3 separate regions of the Homo sapiens genome follow, and regions 2 and 3 are each linked to region 1. Evidence: promoter capture Hi-C in 16 types of primary human blood cells and fetal thymus (Javierre and others, 2016). All regions are on one chromosome and are shown on one strand. The core of a region is centred on a gene start or on the middle of the fragment in contact, and the rest is flanking DNA. Distances in the headings are between cores, read along the strand shown. Region 1 holds the start of WWP2 (WW domain containing E3 ubiquitin protein ligase 2). Region 2 holds the start of CES2 (carboxylesterase 2). Region 3 holds the start of CBFB (core-binding factor subunit beta).

What was found. The method cuts DNA at HindIII sites, captures the fragments that hold promoters and counts their contacts. A CHiCAGO score of 5 or more calls a contact.
Region 2: the fragment with the promoter of CES2 here is called in contact with the fragment with the promoter of WWP2 in region 1 in 4 of 17 cell types (non-activated CD4 T cells, naive CD8 T cells, total CD8 T cells and 1 more); the score reaches 8.4 in non-activated CD4 T cells.
Region 3: a contact is called between the fragment with the promoter of CBFB here and the fragment with the promoter of WWP2 in region 1, in 2 of 17 cell types (fetal thymus and non-activated CD4 T cells). The highest score is 6.3, in fetal thymus.

The regions. Positions count from the first base shown.
Region 1 is chr16:69,760,628-69,764,434 of GRCh38, reverse strand. WWP2 (WW domain containing E3 ubiquitin protein ligase 2) reads right to left here and starts at 2,103. Exons shown (of 24, transcript NM_001270454.2): 1 at 2,044-2,103. RefSeq lists silencers at 1,627-1,676, 1,697-1,856, 1,877-2,016 and an enhancer at 1,720-2,298. The HindIII fragment of the contact is 2,162 bases long and covers 540-2,701 here.
Region 2 is chr16:66,933,911-66,937,717 of GRCh38, reverse strand. CES2 (carboxylesterase 2) reads right to left here and starts at 2,202. Exons shown (of 12, transcript NM_001365405.1): 1 at 2,007-2,202. The coding sequence starts at 2,082. CIAO2B (cytosolic iron-sulfur assembly component 2B) reads left to right here and starts at 3,316. Exons shown (of 5, transcript NM_016062.4): 1 at 3,316-3,495; 2 at 3,652-3,731. The coding sequence starts at 3,354. RefSeq lists enhancers at 1,980-2,592, 3,431-3,630, 3,661-3,710. The HindIII fragment of the contact is 4,886 bases long and covers 1-3,807 here.
Region 3 is chr16:67,027,541-67,031,347 of GRCh38, reverse strand. CBFB (core-binding factor subunit beta) reads right to left here and starts at 2,199. Exons shown (of 6, transcript NM_022845.3): 1 at 1,863-2,199; 2 at 1,535-1,621. The coding sequence starts at 1,940. RefSeq lists silencers at 1,417-1,466, 1,717-1,956, 2,047-2,236 and an enhancer at 2,797-2,936. The HindIII fragment of the contact is 7,418 bases long and covers 1,005-3,807 here.

The sequences.
Region 1 (3,807 bases), core at 854-3,353:
GATCGCTTGAGCCCCGGAGTTTGAAAACAGCCCGGGCAACATAGCAAAACCCCTGTCTCTACAAAAATTAGCCAGGCGAGGTGGCACCCACCTGTAGTCCCAGCTGTTTGGGAGGCAGACATGGGAGGATCACCCGAGCCCAGGCAGGTCAAGGTTACAGTGAGCCGTGATTGTGCCACTGCACTCCAGCCTGGGCAACAGAGTAAGATCCTGTCTCAAAATAAAATAAAAATAAAATTTTCTATTGTGTCAATAAATGAAAAAGAATGGATCTAAGGATTAAGGGTCTGGGCTTGAGTCCCTACTCATTTACTAGCTCTGAAATCTAAAGTAAGGACTTCATTAAGCCTCAGTCTCTTCATGTGATATAGGGACAATACTGACCATCCCAATTTCAAAGGGAAGGTTAAGTGAGATGTTGGTATACGCTCTTTGTAAATGGGAAAGTAATCATGAAGTGAAAGAGACTGAGAAGCCAATCCAAGCCTTTCTCTCGAGCCTGTTTTCATATGGACCAATGACACAGATAATCACAAGCTTCTCTGACAAGAAAAAGAGTAGAAGACTTGGGTTCAAATCCTTTGTCACCACTTACGCCGGTGTGACTTTTAGAAATGCATTTATTCACCAAATATTTATCAAGTGCTCACAACATGCCAGGCACTAGGCTAGCAGCCAAATAAAATATGAAACCTGCCCTTGAAGGATTTGCAATCTAGCAGGAAGAGGCCAGCAAACAAGAAAGAGCAATAAATTGTTTTAAAAAATCAAGTCGTCTCTCGTAAGTCTGTTTGTTCCCTGTGAAATGAGAATACATCTTCCCAACCTCACTCATAGGCGCTGCTGCAAAAACTAATTTTTAAATGTTTGTCAAATAACTCCAAAAACTTGAACTCATAATACATTAGGAAAGTACTTTTTCCTACTTGTAACCCAAAACGATGCTGGCTGCTGTGAATGTCCAGTTTGAACATTCGTTCCAGTTACACTGCACTCATGAAACTCCTTTTGCTTCTGCAAATTTTAGTAAACATGAGAAACAGGAAGATGAACAGGCTTTAACACAAGTATTCAATCTCAAAATCATGATCCAGGTCACAGTTCTAAGGAACATAACACAGACCTCTCAGGCACCCTACCTAGTTACAGTTCGTCAAGATAAGCAGTCACAAGATAAGCTAAGGGAAACTGAATAATTTAAACGGAAGAAAGAGAAAAGTCATAAAGCAGTCTAGGTAGACACTTCTCTGTCCAAGATTTCAGCAGTCACTATGTTGCTGAGGTAACGCTGGGCTAGGTCAACAGTGTAAGCTAAAAGCCATTTTACAGGCAAAGTGCCCACACTTATTTTTTTAATTTATTTTCTTTTTTTGTTTTTTAAAGCCTCGATGATGGCCCGTTCAGGGAAAATCTCAAAGAAAAATGAGCTGAAGGGCTAGGCTCCCAAGAAGTGGAAACCCTACCCACGCAGGACTAAGTGGGCGCGAGGGAAGCAAGACGATCAAGATTCTGTGATCCCTCCTGAAGTTTAAAAACTGAATGGGACCGTCATCAAAGTCTCGGGTAACAATCATTTCCAAACAGGAAGGAAGGGAGAGACTCTCAGAGGGGGTCCAGGCAGCATCTTTTTCCCTCTGGCTCCACGCCATAAACCCATTTTCAGGCACCCCCTTCCAGCTCAGTTCCAAGTCGCCCCTTCCCCTGGTCCCGATCCCTCCACAAAGATCGCTCCTCTCCATGCCTGGGAACCTAAGCTCCTCTCCCCTTCCGGGAGGACTCGCTCCAGCTGCACCCTTGGCGGCCGGGGCACCCATTTCGGAGCAACCCCCGCGCGGGCCGCGGCGCGCCCACCCCACTCGGGCGGGAGCCGGGACACCCCTCCTCGGAGGCCGGAACCGCCGCGCCAGGCCCCTCCCACAGGAAGCCGCCGCCCCCCGACGCCCGGGCCGCGCCGCCCCCGGCCCACCCCGCGCCGCCCGCCGCCCCCGGCCCGCCCCGTGCAGGCAGCCAGCCCACCGCGCCCCCCGCGCCAGCGCTCGCTACCTGCCGTGGCCACAGAAGCGGCGCCGAACTCCTCTCCTACTTCCGCCTTCCACCGCCCGCACTCGGGCCGGGTCACGTGACCGCGCGCGGTCACCTGACCCGGAAGAGGCTGGCCAGGCTCGCAGGTGCGGGCCACCTAGGCCTGGCCTGGGCACCTCTGGCCTCGAGGAGGCCTTTTTATCGTCTCTGTAGTTGAAAGTGGAAGGGTTTCTGCTCACCGGATGGTCCCAGGCAATCAAATAAATTGAGGGCTCACTGAATGCCACCTACTCTGCCCATCAACCTTATAGAGGCAGGGACAGGTACTAGCCCCATTTTACAGGTGAAACGAGACCTTCAGACTGTTAAGTCAGCAAATACTTAATTGAGCTCCTTTAGTAGGGTTGCCAGATAAAGTACAGGACACCCACTTAAATTTGAATTTCAGATAAACAACAGTGTAATATGTATGTCCCAAATACAGAATGGGACATATTTATACTAAAAAAAGTATTTTTTGATTATCTGAAGATCAAATTGAATTGAGTATCTGTATTTCTATTTCCTGGCAACCTTATGCCTATTATGTGCCAGGCACTGTTCTAAGATCCAGGACCACAAACATCTCAGCCTTTGTGGGGCATCTGTCCTTGTGACATGAAGCAAAAGTACAAAAGCTTAAAAACTCCTGCTTGGCTCCATAAAAAGCCCCTCCACACTAATCCAATCGCATTCCCTTAATCTACAACTACAGGGCACAGAGAACTTAATGAATTATAATCCAGGTAGGTAGGTAGGTAGGTAGGTGGATAGATAGATGATATTTTTTTTTTTTTTTTTGAGATGGAGCCTCGCTCTGTCGCCCAGGCTGGAGTGCAGTGGTGCAGTCTCAGCTGACTGCAACCTCCGTCTCGCCGGTTCATGCAATTCTCCTGCCTCAGCCTCCCGAGTAGCTGGGATTACAGGCGTGCACCACCACGCCTGGCTAATTTTTGCATTTTTAGTAGAGACAGGGTTCCTCCATGTTGACCAGTCTGGTCTCGAACACCTGACTTCAAATGATCCGCCCACCTTGGCCTCCCAAAGTGCTGGGATTACAGGCATGAACCACCGCACCTGGCAGAGAAATATTTTTTTTAAGAGATGGGTCTGGATAGGTTGCTTTGGCTGGGCTCGAACTCCCAGCTTCAAGCAGTCCTCTTGCTTCAGCCTCCCAAGTAGCTGAGACTACAGGCGAATGCCACTGTGCCTGCCCAATAACTTTATTTATTTATTTATTTATTTATTTATTTGCTTGCTTGAGACAGAGTTTCACTCTTGTAGCCCAGGCAGGAGTGCAGTGGCTCAATCTTGGCTCACTGCAACCTCTGCCTCCCAGGTTCAAGCAATTCTCCTTCCTCAGCCTCCTGAGTAGCTGGGACTACAGGCACCCACCACCATGCCTGGCTAATTTTTGTATTTTTAATAGAGATGGGGTTTCACCATGTTGGCCAGGCTGGTCTCAAACTCCTAACCTCAGATGATCCACCTGCCTTGGCCTCCCAAAGTGCTCAGATTATAGGCGTGAGCCAATGCGCCCGGCCTCCAAGAACATTTTAAATAGACATTCTTGACTGATGTTCTGGACAAGTTGAATGAAGGCTCAGTTTAATCACCATTGATTAAAATTAATACTAATGACGTAATTAGCCTCAAAGACTTGTACTAATCTGTTATTTTTGGGTCTTCGAATTGGGATGGATTCTATCATGCATACAAATTAAATTGGCTGGTGGGGCGTGGAGG
Region 2 (3,807 bases), core at 953-3,452, 2.8 Mb after region 1:
GGTGGGAATTGGGCAGGCAAGTTTCTTGTCCTCAGGGATGTCATGTCCAAAGTGGCAAGAAATCATGTAAAGAAAGCATCATCCAAACCATGAGTGATGTTGGTGAAAAGAGGTGCAAGAGAAAAGTATGGCTGTGGCTGGGATATAAAAAGCACAGTGACTGGCCTGGGGACCATAGTGGGACTCTGTCTCTGCAAAAAAATCAGGAAATAAATTGGCGGGGTGTGGTGGTGCATGCCTGTAGTCCCAGCTGTAGAAAAGCCTGGCTCCAGAAAGTGGGTGAGTTTATGACTGTTTAGATGAAAATCAAGGACAAGTGCACACATCTATTCTTGTGTAAACTGCTGGGCACTGTGTGTACTGCGGTGTCAACAAGCAGTTTCCAGTGTGGGCCATGGGGACTTTGATGGCCCCTGAGGAGAAGCCAGGACTGGTTGGGTAAAAAGAGGATGGCACACATCACCTGTACCCTCCTATGGCTTGTCAATTATTTTTTCTGAATGTGGGTCCAACCCAAAATTTTGTATACATATATATTTGTCAGACAAGGTCGCCATCTGTTGCCCAGGCTGGAATGCAGTAATATGATAACAGCTCACTGCAGCCTCCACCTCCTGGGCTTGAGATCCTCCCGCCACAGCCTCCTGAGTAGCTTGGAGTACAGCTGTCTGCCACCATGCTTGACTTTTTTTTTTTTTTTTTTTGGTAGAGACAAGTCTTGTTGCCCAAGCTGGTCTCTAACTCCTAGCCTCAAGTGATCCTCCCATCTCTGCCTCTCAAAGTGCTGGGATAACAGGTGTGAGCCACTGTGCCTGGCCCAAAATATTTTAAAAGGTAGCCATCTGTGAGGCCAGGCAGATCTTCCTGCTGGGCTCCTGGTGAACTCTAGAATGTGGTCAAGGGCAGGCACGGGAGGAAGCCCTGCAGCAGTGCACCATGGGGCGGGGGGAGTATGGACTCCACCTGCGCAAATTAAATTGGGGAAGGGTTGGAAGAGACAGATCATACACTTAGGAGAGTTTCGGGTGAGAGGACCAAAGGCCGAAACACTCCCCCAGCTTCTGATAAGGGCCTGGAGAAGCCTGGCAGGCACACAGAGCCTTCACCTTTGCCCTGGAAGCCAAGTTGTGCCCTTGCCCAGGATGAGGTAAATGGCATGAGGGACACCACGAGCTCTTTGGTTCTTGTTTCTGGAGACAGATTTTTGCTTTTTCACCCAGGCTGGAGTGCAGTAGTGGGATGAAGGCTCACTGCAGCCTCAACCTCCCCTACTAAAGTGATCTCCCACCTCAGCCTCCCAAGTAGCTGGGACTACAGGTCACAGACCACCACAGCCCACTAATTTCTTTCAATTTTTTGTACACTCCGAGTCTCACTATGTTGTCCAGGCTGGCCTCCAACTCCTGGGCACAAGCGATACTCTCCCTTGGCCTTCTAAAGTGGTGGGATTAAAGGAGTGAGCCAATCGCACCCAGCCACTGTGGCCTCTTAGATCTGCTTTAGGATTTGGCGCCTGGGGGCTTCTGTTCCCCAAGGACCACTATCCTTGTCTGAGGCCCCTTTGGAGGGCTCAGGGCATCCCCCCTGGCCAAGGACGCCACACACTGAGAGCCAGATGCTGCCAGAAGCTATTACTGTTATTACCGGCCGGCAGCACCCGCTACAGCCACAATCATAAGAGGGAAATGGACTGAATCCCCACACCCCAATCCCTCACCCACTCCGACCCCAGGCTGCCTACCCGGCCTGGCATGTCCCGGCGCTCCTGGGGCCCCTGTACTCCGCTGGTTCCTTGCCGTGGTGTCCCCCAGCCCGACCCTTTCTGTGCTTCTAGGAGCCCACCTTGGGCGGCGGGGAGGCGTTGCGTGGGGCTCACGAGTTCCACGCTGTCATCTCCACCAGCTCCTACCTCCCAGGCGCCTGCCCTCCCGCACTGTCAGGTTCTGCCTCCGCAGCATTTGGCAGATCTGAGCCCGGTCCCTGTCGCCCCTCCGAGGGAGCCTCACCCTGGCCCCGGACAAGAAGCAGCAGAAGCCCACAGGCCACCGCGCTCAGCCGCGCACGAAGTCTGTGCAGCCGCATGGTCGGCTCGCTGGTCTCGGTTCGCTGCCGGCGGACACGCTGCTGTTCACCCAGAGGCTGCCCCGGGTCTGTCCAGCAGTGGATCAGTGCCTTGCCCAGCCTTGGAGTTTGGACTGGGCAGGGAGTCAGCGGGGTGCGCTGGCTTGGGCCGGGAAAGGTGGGTGTGGTAGGAGAGCGGGACTGAGCAGTCATAGGTGGGTGGGGATCTAGTGGTAGGCAGGCCCGGGCACGGCCACTTTCCTTTGCCCGGGCTCCTTTGGCATCCTCGGAAGGGGCTGTGCCATTCCTGCAGCCCTTCCGCGATCCAGGGAATCCTCTCTTCAAACCTGTCCTTGTCCACAGGCCCGATGAGCGCGCTGGGGGATCGATAGGAGGGGGCAATAAACTAGAATTGGAGACCCCAGGAGGGCTTCTCTGAGGATGTGCACGTTCAGGATCCCCCAGATGGAGAAATGGGAAGGAACTTGATCGGGGTGAAGGAACCGCTTGAGCAAAGGCAGGAAGGAGTGTCGGCGCCCTTCATTCTGGAAGTTCCTCCTTGCTTTCAGGACTCAGTTTCCTGGGTTCCCCTTCACGGCCCCTCATCTCCTTACAGTCCAGGGTCTGAGGGTCTCCGCGGTCCCCTCCCTACTCAGTCACGCCATTCTTTTGAAACGTACACGTGACCGCGGCACTTCTTAAGGAGCGCCCCCCTTTTCCTCGGTGGCTTTCAGTTTCCTCACCTCCCGCGGAGACCACGGCCATGGTCATTTATCCACTTGACAAACATTTCACGAGCCCCTGCCGGTCCAAGCTGTGGGGACGCCGTACTCCCGGGCCTATGGTGCAGCAGGGGAGGCAGGCGCGTCACCGGGAGGTCCCGAGACACTAGGATCCCTGCCAGGCCAGAGGCGACCAACCGTCCTGGATACGGGAGCTCCCGGCCAGCCTGACTTCCAGGAGGAAGCGGTGTGGGGATTACCTCCGACCGCCTTTAGTGCCCCCTGAGACCTGGTTCTGGCCTCTACGTTTCAGCCCGCTACTGGCTCGCACGACCCAGCGCCGCCGTGGTCCCTTCTCAGCGCCTTCTGCTCCAGCGACCATCATGTTCCCGGGTCCGAGCAGCCAGGGCCGCGGTCACCGCTTCTCTCGCACCTCAGGCCGAGAACCCACAACGCGGCGTGTCCCTCGCGCGACTCCGTCGCCACGCCACGCCCCCTTCCCGTTCTCCGGAAGTGCGCGGGTTGGAGCGGAAGCGCACGCCTGCTAGGATCAGCGGTGGTGGTTCCGCGATGGTAGGCGGCGGCGGGGTCGGCGGCGGCCTCCTGGAGAATGCCAACCCCCTCATCTACCAGCGCTCTGGGGAGCGGCCTGTGACGGCAGGCGAGGAGGACGAGCAGGTTCCCGACAGCATCGACGCACGCGAGATCTTCGATATCCGCCGCTGCTGGGCGCGGGCGGGTTCCGGGGGCTTGCGGTGGGGGGAGCAGTGATATCGAGCAGCTGGTGGAGCCGCATCCCAGCAGGGCGTTCCTGGCAGAGGGTTCTAAGTGGGCAAGGGCGCAGAGTCCCTTTTCCTTCACTTCCCACATCTGATTCGCTCCATCAATGACCCGGAGCATCCACTGACGCTAGAGGAGTTGAACGTAGTAGAGCAGGTGCGGGTTCAGGTGAGTCACTTCCGAGGGGAGCGAGTTGTTCCAGAGAGTCAGAAAGGTTTCTGTGCAGCAGGAGCTGGCGTGCTCT
Region 3 (3,807 bases), core at 950-3,449, 2.7 Mb after region 1:
GTGCCAAAACCTAAAAGTATGTCTTATGCACTTCAATCATATAAATACTACAATTACTCAAGAAATTTGCAAGTGGGCTAAAAGCTTGAGACTCTCTTTCATAACATGCACTAATGACCAAATATTCAGGAGCTCCTGATAAATTTAACCAGTATCTTCTCACTATTACAACTCTAAAAAGCTTTCACTTAAAATATCAAAATATTCTTTAAAAATAAATTTGAGTTCAGTGATGTAAAGGGAGAATTTTATGACATATGAATTATATCTGAATAAAAATAAACTGGTTTTATAAAGGGGGTGGGAGAAGTAAATTTCCAATGTCTTCCTACTGTTAACCCAAATTCAAATCGCACCTAGCTTCAAGCCTCTAACAATGCAGTGAGTCCAAGTCACCGAGCAGAGAGTAACAGCATTCCATTAGACAGTGCTTCAACTTTTTAAAAAATAATCAGGCCAGACGCAGTGGCTCACGCCTGTAATCCCAGCACTCTGGGAGGTCGAGGAGGGCGGATCACTTGAGGTCAGGAGGCCAGCTTGGCCAACAAGGTGAAACCCCGTCTCTACTAAAAATGCAAAAATTAGCCGGGCGTGGTGGCAGGCACCTGTAATCCTAGCTACTCAGGAGGCTGAGGCAGGAAAATCGCTTGAACCCAGGAGGCGAAGGTTGCAGTGACCCGAGATCGAGCCACTGTACTCCAGCCTGGGCAACAGAGCAAGACTCTACCTCAAAAAAATAGTAATAATCAACCTCTTTTCTTGGTTTCTTCCTACCACTCCCTCCTCATCAGCACCTCCAACAAGGCAAACCAAAAAGATGAGAGGAACTAGGACCCTTGGATTTTTTTTTTCAACCCAAGGTCTGGTGAAGACGCACTAAATCTGCCTCCTAAAACAAGGACCTCGAGATCAACCGTGGGTTTTGCCCATCTGTGCAGTTTTTAGGAACAGCAGCCCTACTCAGGACATGGGGATAATGGTTTCTTTCTGATTCTCCTGAAGCTTAACATTCTAAGAAAATGACATTTTTAGGGCCTTTTCCCCCCCCTCCCCTCTCTATTAGAATAAATAACTGGAGGAAAGATTTCTACTCGGCGATCTGGTAGTGAGACCGCTTGACACAGAGAATTACCGACAGATCTACCTTCTAAGAAACAAACTATCGCCGACCTTGAATGAAGCTCCACTTCTTTTTCCGAATGGGGGTTTGCTTGCTACAAATACCCTGAACCCTTCTTCGGTGTCGCCGCCTAAACAATGCCCTTCGCTTGTTTAGTCTGGCTCGGGTTCGAGCTCCACTCGCGGTGCTCCGTTGGCCGACACGCGCCACCGCGGCGAGCCCCAGGAAAAGCGTCTCCCCGCGAGTACCGGCCCGCGGCATCTGGTTTCGCATTTTGAATCCCGAGTAGGAAGTGAGACGGCGCCCACTCAGTTCCGGGAGCCGCAGCAGCCGCGCCGCCGTCCGGAACCGGCCTGGGCCGCCGCGGCCCCGCGCAACAAGTGACCCGCGCGCGCCCCGGGCCAGCCGACTTACGATTTCCGAGCGGCCGTCGCGGCAGGCGTTCTGGAAGCGTGCCTGGCGTTCCTCGTGGGGCCGGTCCCTGAAGCCCGTGTACTTAATCTGCAAGGCAAGACGGCCCGAAATCAGGAGCCAAATCCGCGGCGCCGCCCGCGCGCCCGCCCTCCCAGCGCAGCGCCGATAAGGGCAAGCAGAGGCTGCGGGCGATGGCCGCCCCGGCGAGATTGCCCCTCCGCGGGCGCACCGACCGGGACTCCCGGGGACCGTGCCGCCCAAACTTTTCTCCGCCCGGGCCCACTCGGGGCGCGCTGCGGCCTCCTAGCCGCCCGCCCGCCTGCCTCACCTCACACTCGCGGCTCAGCTTCCTAAAAAACTCCTCGTTCTCGAACTTGCTTCTCTGGTCGGGCACGACGCGCGGCATCTTCCCGCCCTGAGGCCGCGCCGGCCGGCCGCGCTCGGGGCTTGCGCGGGCACCCGCTGGCTGGCTCCGCGCTGACCGACTGACCGCCCACCCGCGGCGCCCGGACGCCCGCTTCCCTTTGTTTCAGGCGCCCGCCCGCGTGGGCTCCCGTTCCGGGGAGTCTGAGGCGCCGCCGCCCGCTCGAGCCCAACCCACGCCGCCGCCGCCGCCGCCGCCGCCTCAGCCGTTGCCTGCCGCCCGCGCAGCCCCAGCGCTCACCGCCCCCGGCCGCCGCCGCCGCCGCCGCCGCCACTTCCTCTCACCGCCCACCCCGCCCCCGCCGGCCCCACCCCTCCTCCTCGCGCGCCCGCCCGCCTCCAACTCCGGCAAACAAGACGCACCATTCACAACTCCGCGGCCCACGCCGCGCATGCGCCACCCGCCCGCTGGCGGAGCGGCCTGGCTGTGGCGCCCCGGGGCTCCTTCCGCATCAGGGCCCTTTTCCCCCTGCTCGCCCGCGGCCACTCGGCGTGGAGCTGTCGTTGGGGGATCCGCCTGGCCTTTAGCAGACGGGAGTAGCCAGCGCAGGCCTTTTCTACCGCCCTTCCTCGGTCATCTGGAACTTCTGGGTTCCCCAGGTGCGCGGAGTAACCCCAGATTGTCACTTGAACGCGAGGAAACCTAAGTCCTTGGGGACTTTTCGTCCCTAAACCGACCGGCAGGGGTGTAGGCTCTGCACGTTGAAGACTGAGGTGGAAACGGACCAAAGAATCCAACCGAGTCATGGTGGAAAGGTCGTGGCTTTTGGAGTCAGATGGGTCTTAGATGGGATCCCACTCAGCTACACTACCTGCTGGCTGGGGCCTTAGATAAGAATTGGACCACTAAACCTCAGTTTCCTTATTTCCAAAATGCAGACACTCCTAGGTTTGCAGTGTTAGCGTGAGAACCTTTATGTGGGTCTAGCACACAGTGGGAGCCCAATAAATTTAAGTTTCTAAAGAAGAACAAGCTGAGTTAAGAATGTAACCGATTGCCAGTCCATATACTTACTCAATGTGCAATCAGCTGCAAAAAATAAGATCCATAAATTCTAGGGAAGTTGTTTAGCCCAAACTGGAGAAAGTCTGACATGGGATTTATGGCAGAGTTTGATTCAAAGTTAGTCCTGTGGCCGGGCACTGTAGCTCATACCCGTAATCCCAGCCCTCTTTTTTTTTTTTTTTTTTTTTTTTTTTTAAACAGAGCCTCGCTCTGTCGCCCAGGCTGGAGTGCAATGGCGCGATCTCGGCTCACTGCAACCTCCGCCTCCTGGGTTCAAGTGATTCTTCTGCCTCTGTCTCCCGAGTATTTGGAATTACAGGCACCCACCACCACGCCCAGCTAATTTTTTTGTATTTTTAGTAGAGACGGGGTTTCGCCATGTTGGTCAGGCTGGTCTCGAACTCCTGACCTCAGGTGATCTGCCCGCCTCGGCCTCCCAAAGTACTGGGATTACAGGCATGAGCCACTGCGCCTGGCCTAATCCCAGCACTTTGGGAGGCCGAGGCAGGCTGATCACCTGAGATCAGGAGCTCGAGGCCGGTCTGGTCAACATGGCAAAACCCCATCTCTACTAAAGTACAAAAATTAGCGGGGTGTGGTGGCACACGCCTGTAGTCTCAGCTACTCGGGAGGCTGAGGCAGGAGAATCGCTTGAACCTGGGAGGCGGAGGTTGTAGTGAGCCAAGACGGTGCCACTGCACTGCAGCCTGGGCCACAGAGCAAGACTCCGTCTCAAACAGCTACTCGGAAGCTGAGGCAGGAGAATTGGTTGAACCTGGGAGGCAGAGGTTGCGGTGAGCCAAGATCGTGCCATTGCACCCCAGCCTGGGGAACAAGAGCATAA